Linked DNA regions of Homo sapiens: all the other regions are linked to region 1. The links are contacts of gene promoters, found by promoter capture Hi-C in human tissues and cell types (Jung and others, 2019). All regions are on one chromosome and are shown on one strand. The core of a region is centred on a gene start or on the middle of the fragment in contact, and the rest is flanking DNA. Distances in the headings are between cores, read along the strand shown. Region 1 holds the start of CTSB (cathepsin B). Region 2 overlaps FAM167A-AS1 (FAM167A antisense RNA 1). Region 3 overlaps FAM167A (family with sequence similarity 167 member A).

Region 1 (4,719 bases), core at 1-2,500:
GAGACAGAGCCAGCCAACGCCCTCTTAGGCCTCTTCGCCTTACGTTCCTGAACGTTTGGATTCAAAGAGAGTGCATCTCAGCTATCCTCTCCTCCGGCAGCAGGCAGTGGGAATGTTTTTCCAGGCTACAAAAAGGTGCCAGGTCTGCATTTGAACCCCACAGCGTCACTTCTCCAGTGGGTTTGGGGGGTCTCTCGTCCGTTAGGAGGAGGAGTGTGGGGCCTGCGCTAGGGTCCTTTTCTTTGCCAGCCTGCTGGCTTTCTCAGCGCCTGGGAAGGGGGTGACAGAGGCCCACCAGGAAGCCAAGTGCAATTCACTTCCACCTGGGTCGCCCACCCCAGCCTGCCTGCAACGCCCCACACCCAGCACCCACTGCTCCCCAGAGGCCAACTCCCCCCGGCCTCCAGGGCTACTAACCGAGGGGGAGGTGGCGCCCCAGGGACTCTGCCCGGCCTCCCTTTACTGGAGTCCAGGAGCAGGGTGCGCCCCCGGCCTTCTCCCCACCGGCATCCAATCGCCCATTCGCCTCTTGGTTTCGCTGTCTGGTTTCTCTTCCTGTTTATGGATTTAACACCGTGCGGCTTCCTCCCCAGCCCACCCAGTGCCAGATTCCTGTTCTTCAACAGGACCTGTCTTCTGGGGTCCCAGGAATTGCGTGGGATCTTGCGCAGAAAGTTGGCCAGGCAAATCCTTCGCAATGAGGGGGAAATAAACCGAAAATAGATGCCGGCAGATGCGATTATGTCGGCAGTTTGGCCCGGAGACACCGAGGCCCAGGCGCTGGGAGCGCGGTCCCAGGCAGCAGTCTCCGGACCCGGCCGAGCTCTTCCTCGCAGGCGCCTCCCTCGGCGGTCCTGGCCGCGTCCCCGCTCCGAGGGCCGGGGTCCGGCGCACAGCCCGGGGAGGGGAGCGGAGGGCAGAGGGCTGGCGGGCGGAGCTGTTTTCTGCTTTTCTCGCCGACGCTTCGGAGCGCGCGGACTCCCACCCCAGCCCGCCCGTCAGGGACAGTCCCGAGGGTCCCGGCTCCCCGCCGGCCCCCAGGGACGCCGCGGGGCCGCGCCTGGGCCCGACTGAGGGCGCAGAGGAACCCGTCTCGGCGGCCGGGTAGCACCGTCCCCGCCAAGGTCACTTACGCTGCGGTGGCCCCGGGTCCCCAGCACTCACCCAGCGCTGCAGCCGAGAGCCTGCAGCCCAGCCTGCGCGCAGCGGAGCGGTTGGCGTTGCCGGAGCGGTTGCCGGAGCCCTGCAGCCGCCGTAGCCTGGGCCAGCCCCGGCCCTAAGTACCCTCCCGGCCCCGCCCCACGTGACCACCGCGCAGCCCCGCCCGGGCCCTCCCGCCGCCCGCGCACGGTGCTTCCCAGCCCCCACCCCCTCCCGCCACCTTCCGCCGCCCGCGCTCCCCGCTTCCCGGCCCCGCACACCCCCCGCCCCCTTCCGCTCGGGGTCCGGGGCCACCGCCGGGGGCGGGCGGGGGCCTGAGCGCGCGGGCTGGGGAAGAAGGGCTTGGAGCCCTGCGGGCCCTGGGTGGCGAAACGCTGCGAATTGGGGCCAGGGGATGGGGAAAAAGCCCCTAAAGGTGGTCCCAAGGCCCCCACCCCGCCTAGAAAAGTCCCCCCGCCTCGCGGGACCGCCTCCGCCAGAACCCGCGCCTGGGATCCCTGCCTGCCGAGTTGGCGGGGGTGGGGTGGTGGAGAGGGCGCCGTCGCTTATTTCATTCATTCAGAAGCCGCTGCAGAGGCTGGGGGTGGCGAGGCTGTGGACCCCACAGAACAGCCTTTAGAAGGGCCACTTTGTTGTTCAGAGAACGTACCCACAAAACACTACAGCTACGTACAAATAGAAAAGAGTGGCTGTCACTGCGAAGGAACCTAGGAGCTGCGTCAGGATTTCTAAGAGGAGAAGGACCTTGGGGGCGGAAATCGGTTTGGCACAGGAGTACCCGGAGACCTGCTCCGAGAGGACGGACAAAGTGCACATTTACTTGGGGTTTATTACCGGGAGGCCCTGGAAGGGAGATGCAGGGGTTGGCTCAAGACTCACCCTCCTCCAGACACTCCCCAAACAGCTTTAATCCTTAAGACAAACCTGCAAAGCAGGCATGACCCCAGTTGTATTCAAGAGGCTCAGAGGGGCTGGGTTCGGTGGCTCACGCCTGTAATCCCAGCATTTTGGGAGGCCGAGGCCGGTGAGTCACCTGAGGTCGGGAGTTCGAGACCATCCTGACCAACATGGAGAAACCCCGTCTCTACTAAAAATACAAAACTAGCCGGGCGTGGTGGCGCGTGTCAGTAATCCCAGCTACTCGGGAGACTGAAGCAGGAGAATCGCTTGAACCCGGGAGGCGGAGGTTGCGGTGACCAGAGATCGCACTATTGCACTCCAGCCTAGGCAACAAGAGTGAAACTCTGTATTAAAAAAAAAAAAAAGGCTCAGAAGAATCGTATTTTATCCAGGCTGTGGCGACAGTAAGAAGGCAGTAGCCGGGTGCAGTGGCTCACGCCTGTAATCCCAGCACTTTGGGAGGCCGAGGCGGGCGGATCACGAGGTCAGGAGATCAAGATTATCCTGGCTAACACGGTGAAACCCCGTCTCTAGTAAAAATACAAAAAATTAGCCGGGCGTGGTGGCGGGCGCCTGTAGTCCCAGCTACTCGGGAGGCGGAGGCAGGAGAATGGCGTGAACCCGTGAGCTGAGATCGTGCCACTGCACTCCAGCCTGGGCGAAAAGCGAGACTCCGCCTCAAAAAAAAAAAAAAAAAAAAAAAAAAAGGCAGTAGGACTGCATGGGACCTGGTTCCCTGCAGCCTGGTCGTCAGCTGTCACACAGCCCTGAGCCTGTCTTCAGAGACATGCCTGTACTCCCGCCTGGTTAGTAACAAACTAAGGATAGGAGTGGAAGGAAAAAATAATCTCTGGAGCCCAAACATGGTCACTAAGCCCCCAGCAGAGTGGGATACCCGAGGAACTGAGGACCAGGAGGCTGGAGGTCAAGGTGGTCCCAACTGCCTGCTCACCCTAGTCATATCCTGACAGCCATGGACTCTGGACTCCAAATCATTTCAGACCTCTATAAGGAGCTCATAAGATGGCCAAAATGGGGAGGACACAGCCAGAACCAGGATAACTCTCCCCTCTCTCATCCTTAGAGTGTGACAGAAGGTATGCAGAGCAGAGTGCTTGACATGCGTTATGGCTATTTGATGGAATTTTCCATCAGTGTCATTATAGAAATCACTTTTGAGAGGTAAAAATCACTTTTGAAACAAAAGAAACAGGCTAGGCGCGGTGGTTCACCACTGTAATCCTAGCACTTTGGGAGGCTGAGGCAGGCAGATCACCTGAGGTCGGGAGTTCCAGACCAGCCTGGCCCAAATGGTGAAACCCAGTCTCTACTAAAAATACAAAAATTAGCTGGGCGTGGTGGTTCACGCGCCTGTAATCCCAGCTACTTGAGAGGCTGAGGCAGGAGAATCGCTTGAGCCCGGGAGGTGGAGGTTGCGGTGAGCCAAAATCACGCCATTGCACTCCAACCCGGGCAAGATTCCATCTCAAAAGAAAAGAAAAGAAAAAAAGAAATAGGCCAGGCGCAGTGGCTCACGCCTGTAATCCCAGCACTTTGGGAGGCCAAGGCAGGCGGATCACGACGTTGGAAGTTCAAGACCAGCCTGGCCAACATGGTGAAACCCCGTCTCTACTAAAAATACAAAAATTAGCTGGGTGTGGCATTGCGGGCCTGTAATCCCAGCTACTCGAGCGCTGAGGCAGGAGGATCCCTTGAACCAGGGAGTCAGAGGTTGTAGTGAGCCGAGATCACGCCATTGCACTCCAACATGGGCAAGACTCCTCAAAAGACAAGAAAAGAAATATATTACTACCAGAGTAGAATTCGTCCCTTCCTGGAACATCCAGGAAAGCTTCATGGAGAAAGGAACATACAGCATATTTACTTGTATATGTTCCTTCCTGCCCTCACTGGATCTTAAGCCCCACCCAGGCAAGCATTTTTACCTGCGGTGTTCCCCTGCTTCATCCCAGCTCATTGCAGGGTGTCTGGCCCATAGCAGAGGATAGAGAAATGTGAGTTGAGTGGATGCATAATGAATGAAGTAGGCCTTGAAGTTGAGGAGAATTTTGGCTTAACCTGCTAGATTTGGGGGTCAGGGTTCAGGGCCTGGGGAACAGCTCTCAGAACTTACAGAGAGGCCTTGACTCACGTGTGTAAAAGCTGTTTGCTTGTTGAACATCCGTAAAAGAGGCCTAAGTTAACACCTGAAAGAGGTGAAAACATACGTCCTCACAAAAATCCGCCGGGCACAGTGGGCTCACGCCTGTAATCCCAGCACTTTGGGAGGCAGAGGTGGGTGGATTACTTAAGCCTAGGAGTTCAAGACCAGCCTGGGGAACATAGTGAGACCCCAACTCTAAAACAAAAGTTAATAACGTATGTATAAACTTACACCAGATGTTTATAGCAGCATTATTTACAGTAACCAAAAGGTGAAAACAACTCAAATGTCCATCCATTAAAAACCATTGCACGAATAAACAAACTGTCATAAATCCACCAAATGGAGTTTTATTCAGTCGTAAAAAGGAATGAAGTAGTCACACATGCTACAACATCGATAAACCTTGAAAACGTTTACTAAGTAAAATCAGCCAGGTCCAAAGGACTCAGTATTGTATGATTCCGTGAAATCCACATGGGAGGTTAGGTAGG
Region 2 (4,719 bases), core at 1,395-3,894, 450 kb before region 1:
CCCTGAAGGGCTGTGCTGTGTGGAGGTGACCTGCCAGGGGCCCGCCCAGAGATGAGAGGGGACTGCAGTCGCCCGCCTGGCTGGAGCTAGCTCTGGGCTCACATGGACAATGGGTGATGGCAGGCCACTCTGGGTGGTGGAATGGGGCGTCAGGGACTGGGGCCTTCTGCAGGGCTGCTGGGTCTTGCATCTGCTCCTGCCCCTGAGCCTCAAACTCAGAAGCTGTGATTTCTAGGCCCTGTTCTTAGACTTGACCAGAACATTCTGAAAAGGGGAGATGGGGGCAGTGCAGGAAAGGAAGGCTGGTTCATGTGCTTGCATTTGGTGACCATATCCCATCTTAAAAATAACCTCCTGCGTTTCACTGTTTCTTGCACCTTCTCTCTTTCTTGGCCTTCTCCCCATTTCTCTCTCTCCCTTCCTCTCTCTCTTGCTTCCTCTCTTCCTCCCCCTCTCTCTCCCCACCTTCTGTTTTCTACCCCTGGTGCTTCTGACATGGGCTTCATTGTGGGTTTGAGATAGGAGTTGGGGAGGGCTTGTTTTGCAGGGTACAGATCACAAAGACCCTGCTGATAAAATGAGATGTGGTCAAGAAGCCGATCAAAATCTAGCAAAACCAAGATGGGAACAAAGGCAACCTCTGGTCGTCCTCACTGCTCATTATACGCTAATTATAATGCATTAGCTGCTAAAAGGACACTCCCACCAGCGCCATGACAGTTCACAAGTGCTGTGGCAATGCCTGGAAGCTACCCTATATGGCCTGAAAGGGGGAGGAACCCTCAGTTACGAGAATTCCCTGCCCCTCTCCTCGAAAACTCATGAATGATCCACTCCTTCTTCAGCATATGATCAATAAAGAAATAGCCAACCAGCAGTCCCGGGCTGCTCTGCCTATGGAGTAGCCACTCTTTTATTCCTTTCCTTTCCTAATACATTTGCTTTCACTTGACTCTGTCGGCTCACTCTTGAATTTCTTCCTGTGCAAAGCCAAGAACCCATGTGGCCTCCCAGGCTGAACCCGGTTTAGGGGTTTGTCCTGTGACAGGTCTGTCAAGGGGAACAGAGCCCAGAGCAGATTGGCAGAAATATGGTGCCTTTTACCCAGCGACTCAGGTGTGTGCAGACGCCATATGTGGCCACACAGGGGCAGTAGGACACTGGGCAGAGGCTGTGCCCGTGCCACCTCGCATGAGGAAGCATCGTCCCTCATCCAGTTTGGCACAGCCTGAGGCTTGGATATGGGGTGAATCCAATGTGGCGCAGGCAAAGGCCGGGCCTCACTCTTGTCTGACTTGCCCTCCATCTGTGAAAATGTTTGTGCATTCCCCAACAGATTTATATAATATACATGTCTGTACCCATATATTATACATATTTAGAGCACATTGAAAGCAGAAAAGAAGAGGTTTAAAACATTAATAGAAGTTCTCGTCTTTTTGCGTGCATGTGACAAGGTTTCATTCTGTGGCCCAGGCTGAAGTGCAGTGGCGTGATCGTGGCTCACTGCAGCCTCGACCTCCCCAGGTTCAGGTGATCCTCTCATCTCAGCCTCCTGAGTAGCTGGGCATGTGGGTAGCTATTTTTTCTACTTTTTGTAGAGATAGGGTCTCACCATGTTGCCCAGGCTGGTCTAGAACTCCTGGGCTCAAGTGATCCTCCCACCTCGGCCTCCCAAATTGCTGGGATTACAGGCGGGAGCCACTGCACCTGGCCTCTTCTCTTCCTTTCACTCCATGCTGCATCATCTTGGTACTGCCCCGTGTCTACACTGCAAGTCAGAGTCTGCTGGTCAGGGTGTCCTTAGGGCTGCAGGCTGATGGGGTTTTGCAGGTCCACTCTGGATGGGGTGAGGAAGAATGAGAGGTAATCACTAAGATCCCATCTGCAAATAGTGCAGTTCTCCTCTACTTGGGGGCCCAGGCTAAGCTGGTACTTCTCCACACTTTGGATGTCAGGTTTGGCCATCTGACTTGTTTAGACCAAGGAAATGTGAGCAGAAATGATATGAGTCACTTCCAGGTGGGGGCTTTAAAAGCTGGGGGTGGGGTAGAGAGGAGAGGAAGAGGGGTCAAAGAGGAAAAACAAATATCCCCGTTGGGTGTGACTGCCATAACAAGATACCATAGACTGCGTGGCTTAAATAACAGACATTTGTTTTCTCACAGTCCTAGAGGCTGGAGGTCCAAGATCAAAGTACTGGCAGGGTTGGTTCCTTCTCAGGCCTCTCTCCTCAGCTTGTAGGTGGTGTCTTCTCCCTGTGTCTCCATGTGGCCGTCCCTCTGTGAGTGTCTGTGTCTTAATCTCCTCTTCTTATGCAGACGTCAGTCAGATTGGATTATGACCCACCCATATGACCTCATTTTACTCTAGTTACCTCTTACATAGTCCCATTCTTAGATGCTGGAGATCAGGATTTCAACATGTGAATTTTTGGGGGTCATAATTCAGTGCACAATAGCAAGTGAAGCTTTATTCCCGGTGGTGGCAGCAGGCAGAGGTGTGGACAGACCTCTTGAGAATCACCAGCTTTCCATAGCCGTTCCAGCTACAGCGGTGCAAAAAAGGCCCCCTGCTGAGCTGGGTGAAATCCGGGCGACTTTGGGGATGAGCTCTGTGAGTCACCTCTTCTCACAGCCTCTTCCCGGACACTGCCTGTCCCCGCCCTTCTAAGGGTTCTGTGAACCCTTAGTTCCTGAATCAGGTCCTTTCCTTCATGGAAGACTGAGGGGGCTTCCACTTTATTGACCAAACCCAGACTGGTGCAGAGGCGACAGGTTGGAGACGCATTTGTCCTGCTCCAGGCCCAGGTACCCCTCCCAGATGAGGCCGAGAGTGCAGTGGGTGGGGGAGCAGAGGTGAGCTCCCTGAAAGCCCTCCCTCCAGGCCTAGGCCAGGACCACCTGGGTGGGTGAGTCTCCGGGAGCGAGCCAAGGAGTGTGGCTTGTCATCTCTAACTCAGGTTTCCCTTGGGACTCTGGCTGTTCTTTAGCAAATGCCCCTTAGCTTCAGTAGTCTTTGCATGGAGAAGGGAGTAAGAGAATGAGCAGTGCAGGGCTTTCTGTTTAACAAATGGCTCAGGAAATACCCTACTGTCCTGCAAAGCTGCACCAAGCCTCACTTTCCTCGTAACCATCTTGCAGGCGGGAATGTTCCTGGCAGCGAGTGGTGGATGACGGATTCTTACAGCCTGCAAACACCTTCATTTTTTTATGATTAAAAAATAAAAAATAGACAAGGGTGGGGCATGGTGGCTCATTCCTGTAATCCCAGCACTTTGGGAGGCCGAGGCAGGCAGATCACTTGAGGTCAAGAGTTTCAGACCAAGCTGGCCAACATGGTGAAACTCCATCCCTACAAAAATACAAAAATTAGCCAGCTGTGGCAGTGCACACCTGTAGTCCCAGCTACTCAGGAGGCTGACGCAGGAGGATTGCTTGAACCCATGAGGCAGAGGTTGCAGTGAGCTGAGATCCTACCACTGCACTCCAGCCTGGGCAACAGAGCCAGACTCTGTCTCAAAAAAACAAACAAAAAGAGATGAGGTCTCTCTGTGTTACCCAGGCTGGTCTTGAACTGCTGGGCTCAAGCAATCCTTCCATGTCAGCCTCCCAAAGTTCTGGGATTACAGGCATGAGCCACCATGCCTAGCTAAAACACCTTTTTTCCCTTTTAATTTTTAAAAAATTGATGTATAATAATTGTACATATTTATGGGGTATATAGTGATGTTTCTGTGCATTCCGTGTCTAGTGATCAAATCAGGGTAATTAATATCCATCACGTCAAGCATGTATCCTCAAAGAAATGATAAATGTTCCAACGCATCTGAGGTTTCTCTTCCTTAATCAATTTCCTTTGGAGACCGCCTAGCTGTCTCCCTTGCTGTTTGCTTTGAGCCTGTGAACGGGGTACTTAAAAACAGCCCTGTCTGAAACCTTCAATCTGCTGAGCAGCTCCCATCAGATAGGGTCTGGTTACCACAGGCCTGTCTGCTCTGGTCACTGCCAACTTCCTCCTCTTCTGCCTGCCTCCTTCCCCAAGTCGTCTAGGCCACAGACTTCAGGCTTAGACATGGAGAAGGAGCCAGTGGGAAGTGCTTCTGGTCTTGTTGAGAAGTCAAAAGGGTGTGTGTAAACGGAGTTTACACCCTTTCCAAACATAAGAGAGACGAGATCTCTGGGAGGCCAAGGAAGCCACAGTTTGACGTCACCAGCCATGGGTCAGGGCACCTGGCCACGCTCAGCAGGGCACCAGCAGCTAATGTGGCAGCAGGCCGAGTCTCTGAATGAAGAAGCCACACCACATCTGAACTGTCGCTCCCCCTCTCCCCATACTCTGGTCTCCACCTGTTCAGTCTTGATCTCTCCTGGACTCACCCTAGCAACCCCCAGGTCACGTGGAGACCACTGGCCATGCACCTACCTCCAGCTCCGTTGGCTCTCCCGGCCCGTTTCCTCTCGTCGTCCTTCCCTCCTGACTCAGTCTAACACTAACATTGCTCCTTTGCAAAAAACATTCACTTTTGCTGTTTCCGTTCTCTGTCACCTGCTTGGCAAATCCTATCTCCCACTGTCTGCCTGGTCTTTGTCTGTATTGGAACTTCTAAATATTGCTGAAAAAATCAATCACTCCACCAGGCTTGCTGGACACACCCCACATTTATGACCACAGCCTCAAATGGGCAATCCCGCCACCAGACCAGACGGTCCATCTTCG
Region 3 (4,719 bases), core at 1,119-3,618, 420 kb before region 1:
TCTCTTTAAATGCTGTGGAATGAATGAGCCAATAAAACAGATTTCCTCCCACTCACAGCGACCTGTCCTTGCTCAAATCTGAGCCAGCCTGGATGGGCTCAGAGAGGCAGAAAAAGACACCCAGGCTTCCTGGGATGGTGCCTCCCCTCCTGTCCCCACGGATGCCACCCACCCTGCCTGCCCTGACCACAAGTGTCCAGACATAGGTGTGCAGGCTCTGGGCCTGCAGTGGGACAAAGACAGGAACAGCTGCAGCTCATCCCAAATCCCAGGACTATGTGCTGGAGTTGGAGGGGACAGTCTGATGTGACAGACCTAGCTTGAGGGCCTCCTTGGAGTCCAGTGCAGGATGAGGTCATTTCCATCCAGCAGCTTCCTCCCTCTTCTGGAAAGTGCATCCCCCTTTCCCACAGGAGCCCATCCCTGGGGTTTCCTTTCTCCTGGGGCGTGGGGAGACACAGGATGAAGTTTTGGTGTCAGAACCACTCAGAGGCCAGCCTTGCTCTGAGCTGGCCGGGGCCGCTGGGGCCACCATGCTCAGCACATGTGGGGAAAGGGTCTAACTGGAGAGCAAAGCCAAGCCGACAGTGTGGCAGCTTGGCCATCACAGCCCAGTGGCAAGGAGCTGGGGGCCCGCAGCTGGGCCCCGTGGGAAGCCACCCGCCCTGCCCAGGTTACACAGCGTATACCTTCCGCCTTTTTTGCTTCAGCTACTTGGAGATGGGGTTTCTGACATTCGTAAGTGACTGACACAGCACGCACTGGAGAAGGAATATTAAAGAGCACAGTGGATGCTTGCTGCTATTTGTCTTTCGTTGGACTGTGTGTCTGTTTGCCATATCCAACACCCTCTCCTTTCCTGTGTGGAGGGAGCTCCCCATTTTGTGCAGAACAGCAGGCAGGCCGTGCAGCCTTCTCTGCAACCAGAGGACCACGTGCTCCTCTTCCCAGCTCATGCCCTGGTGACCAGGTGTGAGCATGTGACCTGAGCTTGGCCAGTCAGCTGTTCAGGCCCCGACTCTGAATTGGGTGCGTGTGAGTCTCAGAGGAAGGGATGGTTAGGGCGCATCTGTGAACCAACCCTGGAGGCAAATGTGAAGTGCAGGGGCGGTGGCATCCTCTTAGCCAAATTGTCTCTGCTGAAGGACTGGCCCGGGATCTCCTGCCTCTGCCTTCTGGATCTGCCCTGGTTCTGCCTGTTTTCTGGTCTTTACCTCCTGCCAATTCTGTGGGCACCTGACAGCCTTACAATAATGTCATTTTCTCTTGCTCACAACCAAGAGCTGTAACTGAAATGAGACAGGAAGCACAACTCATTTGGTGAGGAAAATATACAACTGAGAGCAAACCAGTGTCATAAAATGTCATGACAATCCAAAAGGCTCCCTCTGCCACCATTCCACGTGTCCCTTGGTGGTGGGGGGCAGGGAGGGGGTGCTGTGCGACCTCCCATTGAGAACCACAGGGTGGATGGTCACTGTCCTCCTAATGAAATCTTACTGAGTCTGTCCACATGCAGAGTTGACTTGTCTCCTAACTCACAATCCATGACAGGCTATGCTTGATGAGGACAGAATGACAATTTCGCATATGAGTGAATTTATCCTTGCTCTGCTCCTCTGGCAGAAACGCCGCCCATGGTTCCCTGTGCAAAATGGATACATGCTGGGTCATGAGACCAGCCCAGCTGGGCTACAGCCGGACATCAGGGCAAACAACTGAAGGGCCGAGAAGTCTGGTGAGCTGTGCTCTTTTGGGAGTGGTGCCTCTGGGCTGTTTCAGGACTGTGACAGTCCCCAGAGGGAGAGGGGGTGAGCAGAGGCAGAAAGAGCATGAAGGAGTGAGCCTGTGGCTGCATCTGTCTCCCACAGGCTGCTGCTTCCTCCACCTGCAGCTCCCTCCCTTCTCATCATCAGCCTCCACCCCACGAGGTTGCCTCGGGTCTGTTTCTGCAGCCTGAAAGAGGTGCACTAACCCTATTCAAATCCCCATTTTACAGGTGAGGAAACAGATAACTTTTCTCATGAAACCGAAGCCCAAGCTCCCATAAACAGACGTGACGGCCTGAGATCCTGGCCCAGAAAAAAGGGTGCTTTATTTAGCATCTATGAATGCTGGGGGAATGTGCAGGCACGTTCCCCAGTGCCAGCACGGGCTGAGCAATGGTAGGTCTCCTCAGAGTTCACCGAGCATCAGCACACACATTCGGGCCTCACGTCCTTCTGACTTCACGCAGGAGAAAGTGGAGGCCACAGAGGCTGGCTGGTTCCCAGAACACAGATCTGCTGCAGGAAAGCTGGGGTGATCTCCCCCCTCTGTCCCCTTCATCACGGCTGCCCCCATTCCCCTGCACTCCTGACCCCTCAGCCTGAGCCTGGGGACTTGGACGCTGTCCCCTTCTCCACAAAGCTCCCTCCTCCAGGCTTCCTCTCCTCTGTCCTGCTGCCGGTTATCCTTCTAAAATGCAACTCGAATCCTGCCCCTTAATAACTTTCCTACTAAGTAACTTTGTTATTGAGATGAGGTCTCACTGTTGCCCAGGCTGGAGCGCAAGTGGTACAATCACAGCTCACTGCAGCCTCAGACTCCTGGGGTCAACTGATCTCCTGCCTCAGCCTCCCAAGTAGCTGGAACTGCAGGCATGTGCCACCATGCCTGACTCTAAATAACATTTTAGTAACACTGTCAAGCTGCTAATATGTATGAAGCACTCAATATGTGCCAGGCACTATAAGGAGATAGCACCTCACTTATTTGCATGAGAATCTTGTGAAGTATGCACTATGATTGTCCCATTACACAGATGAAGAGACCGAGGCACAGAGATGATAAGGCACGGGCCCAGTGGCACTCAGACTGTACCTGGCAGGGCAAGGACTGAAACCAGCAGATGCACAGCTCCCTGTGGAGGTGGAGGGGAGGGCTGCAGCAGGAGCCAGGAAGGCTGAGCTGGGGACCAGGACCGGGTCAGAGGCTCTGTGACCCTCCCCATGGTCTACTCAAACAGAACAAAGCAAGAGTGTCCTCTGGGAATCAAGTTGCCCCCCGAGATAGCCAGCTCTGTCTTGGTTCTGTGCTGTCCTATGACGCTGGCCACTCCACAGCAGAACCACCTTCACTGAGTTTATGGAGCACGTCTACACCGCAGCACATAAACACTGCAGGGAAGGCTGGGTCTTCTTACCCCATCATGCAGCAAACCGAGGTGGCAGCCTATGTGACCAGCCTAAGGCCCGGGGCTCCTCAGTGACAGCCCAGAGCCTACTGCCCACACTCCTTGGGGTTGCTGTGCCATCTTCTAGAACCTACTATCTGGCAGGACTAGCTATCACGCGTGTGGAAAGCTTTCCATCTGCAGGTATAACTGGGTTCTCCCAGAAATTTCTGGAAGGAAGAATTAGCTACACTGTGACTTAGGGCCCTGCAGGATCCTCAGCAGGGCAGGTCTTGGGGGATGGGATGTCTTTAGTGCCGGCCTCACCTTCTTGACCCCGACACCGTCTGGGTTGCCCATGGCTCTGCTGCCAAAGCCAGGGTGGGCTTGGCTGGAGAGCGGAGGCCCACGTGTGTGTGCAAAGCGCTCTGTTTCCTCTGCTGAGCCTGCTGTGTGTGTCACCAAGCCTAAAACTCCACATCAGAGAGACTCGTGGCTTCACTCAAGGACAGCATCTCCTGATTCCTCCGTCAACACCTGTCTGGTGCAGGGGTGGCAGGAAGAGGCATCTCCACTCTACCTTGCCCTGATGTTGCGGTTTCAGCCAGGCCAGGCCCATCAGTAGAGGGCACAGCCCTGATTTCAACCGGAGACAAAGGCAGGGGCCATGAGCTGGGACCTGCGGTGGCTTCAGAGGCCAGAGAACAGTGAGGCCAGCCCCACAGCCAAGGGAGTGCAGAGGCTCTAAGGGGTTTCATACACAGAAAATTCAGGGTGGTGCAGGGCAAAGCTCATGCCTGCATCTTTTCCTTTTGTTTTCTGAAAAGGCAAATCCCTTTGTTCTGGGTGAGTAAGAGGTTAGGAGGTCTGGGACATGGCTCCACAGTCGGCCTAGGGAGGCGAGCCTGGGGTGTGCAGGCTTTTCTGCCCGGGTTTAATCAGAAACCCAACACTTATCTCACCCAGAGGACCAGACAGGACTGGGCTGGCCTCTGGCTGGGCTCAGCACTGACCAGGTGGCAGCCGAGAGGACAGGGACACAGCCCTGGGCCCCACAGAGCTGCTGCCGGGAGCCAGGCTGCCCTAGTGGTCCCCTCCTCCTCCGGGGTTGCCATGGCAACTGAGCAGGAGGGACCCTGCTGTCTAGCCCTGGCGCTCATCTCTTGCCTTTCCAGCCTCATCTGCATTCCAAGCCTTGGTCAGAGCCGGTGTCAGGAGCCCTGACATGGAGATGACATCCTGCCGAGACCTGACCCCGGCCCCAGTGCTGCACGTGGCAGGGATGGGTTGCTGGGATATGTGTGTGTGCGTGTGTGTGTGTGTGACTGTGGTGGGGTTGTTGCCTTGCTGAGTGTGGGTGGTGGTTGCCTTGCTCTGTGTGTGTGTGTGACTGTGGTGGGGTTGTTGCCTTGCTGTGTGAGTGTGGGTGGTGGTTGCCTTGCTCTGTGTGTGTCTGGGGGGGGTGGTTACCCTCCTGGGTGTGTGTGAGTGTGGGGGGTGGTTGCCTTGCTGTGTATGAGTGTGAGGAGTGTGAGTGTGGGATGGTTGCCTTGCGTGAGTGTGAT

What was found. Contacts are between HindIII fragments. The study calls those that stand out against the background at their distance.
Region 2: a contact is called between a fragment that was not itself captured here and the fragment with the promoter of CTSB in region 1, in 2 of the 25 tissues and cell types used here (lymphoblastoid cells and thymus).
Region 3: a fragment that was not itself captured here is called in contact with the fragment with the promoter of CTSB in region 1 in 1 of the 25 tissues and cell types used here (aorta).

What each region holds. Positions count from the first base shown.
Region 1 is chr8:11,866,837-11,871,555 of GRCh38, forward strand. It overlaps CTSB (cathepsin B), which reads right to left and starts at 1,251. Exons shown (of 10, transcript NM_001908.5): 1 at 1,165-1,251. RefSeq lists an enhancer at 515-724 and silencers at 815-1,144, 1,285-1,404. The HindIII fragment of the contact is 10,819 bases long and covers 1-4,719 here.
Region 2 is chr8:11,412,732-11,417,450 of GRCh38, forward strand. All of the region lies in intron 3 of FAM167A-AS1 (FAM167A antisense RNA 1), which reads left to right. Among named protein-coding and RNA genes, the nearest start is that of FAM167A-AS1, 47 kb to the left of the region's middle. RefSeq lists enhancers at 3,759-4,260, 4,108-4,337, 4,261-4,719. The HindIII fragment of the contact is 4,838 bases long and covers 226-4,719 here.
Region 3 is chr8:11,450,677-11,455,395 of GRCh38, forward strand. The region is part of intron 1 of FAM167A (family with sequence similarity 167 member A); the gene reads right to left. Among named protein-coding and RNA genes, the nearest start is that of FAM167A, 14 kb to the right of the region's middle. RefSeq lists enhancers at 1,032-1,607, 1,540-1,589, 1,608-2,183, 2,184-2,759. The HindIII fragment of the contact is 6,640 bases long and covers 1-4,719 here.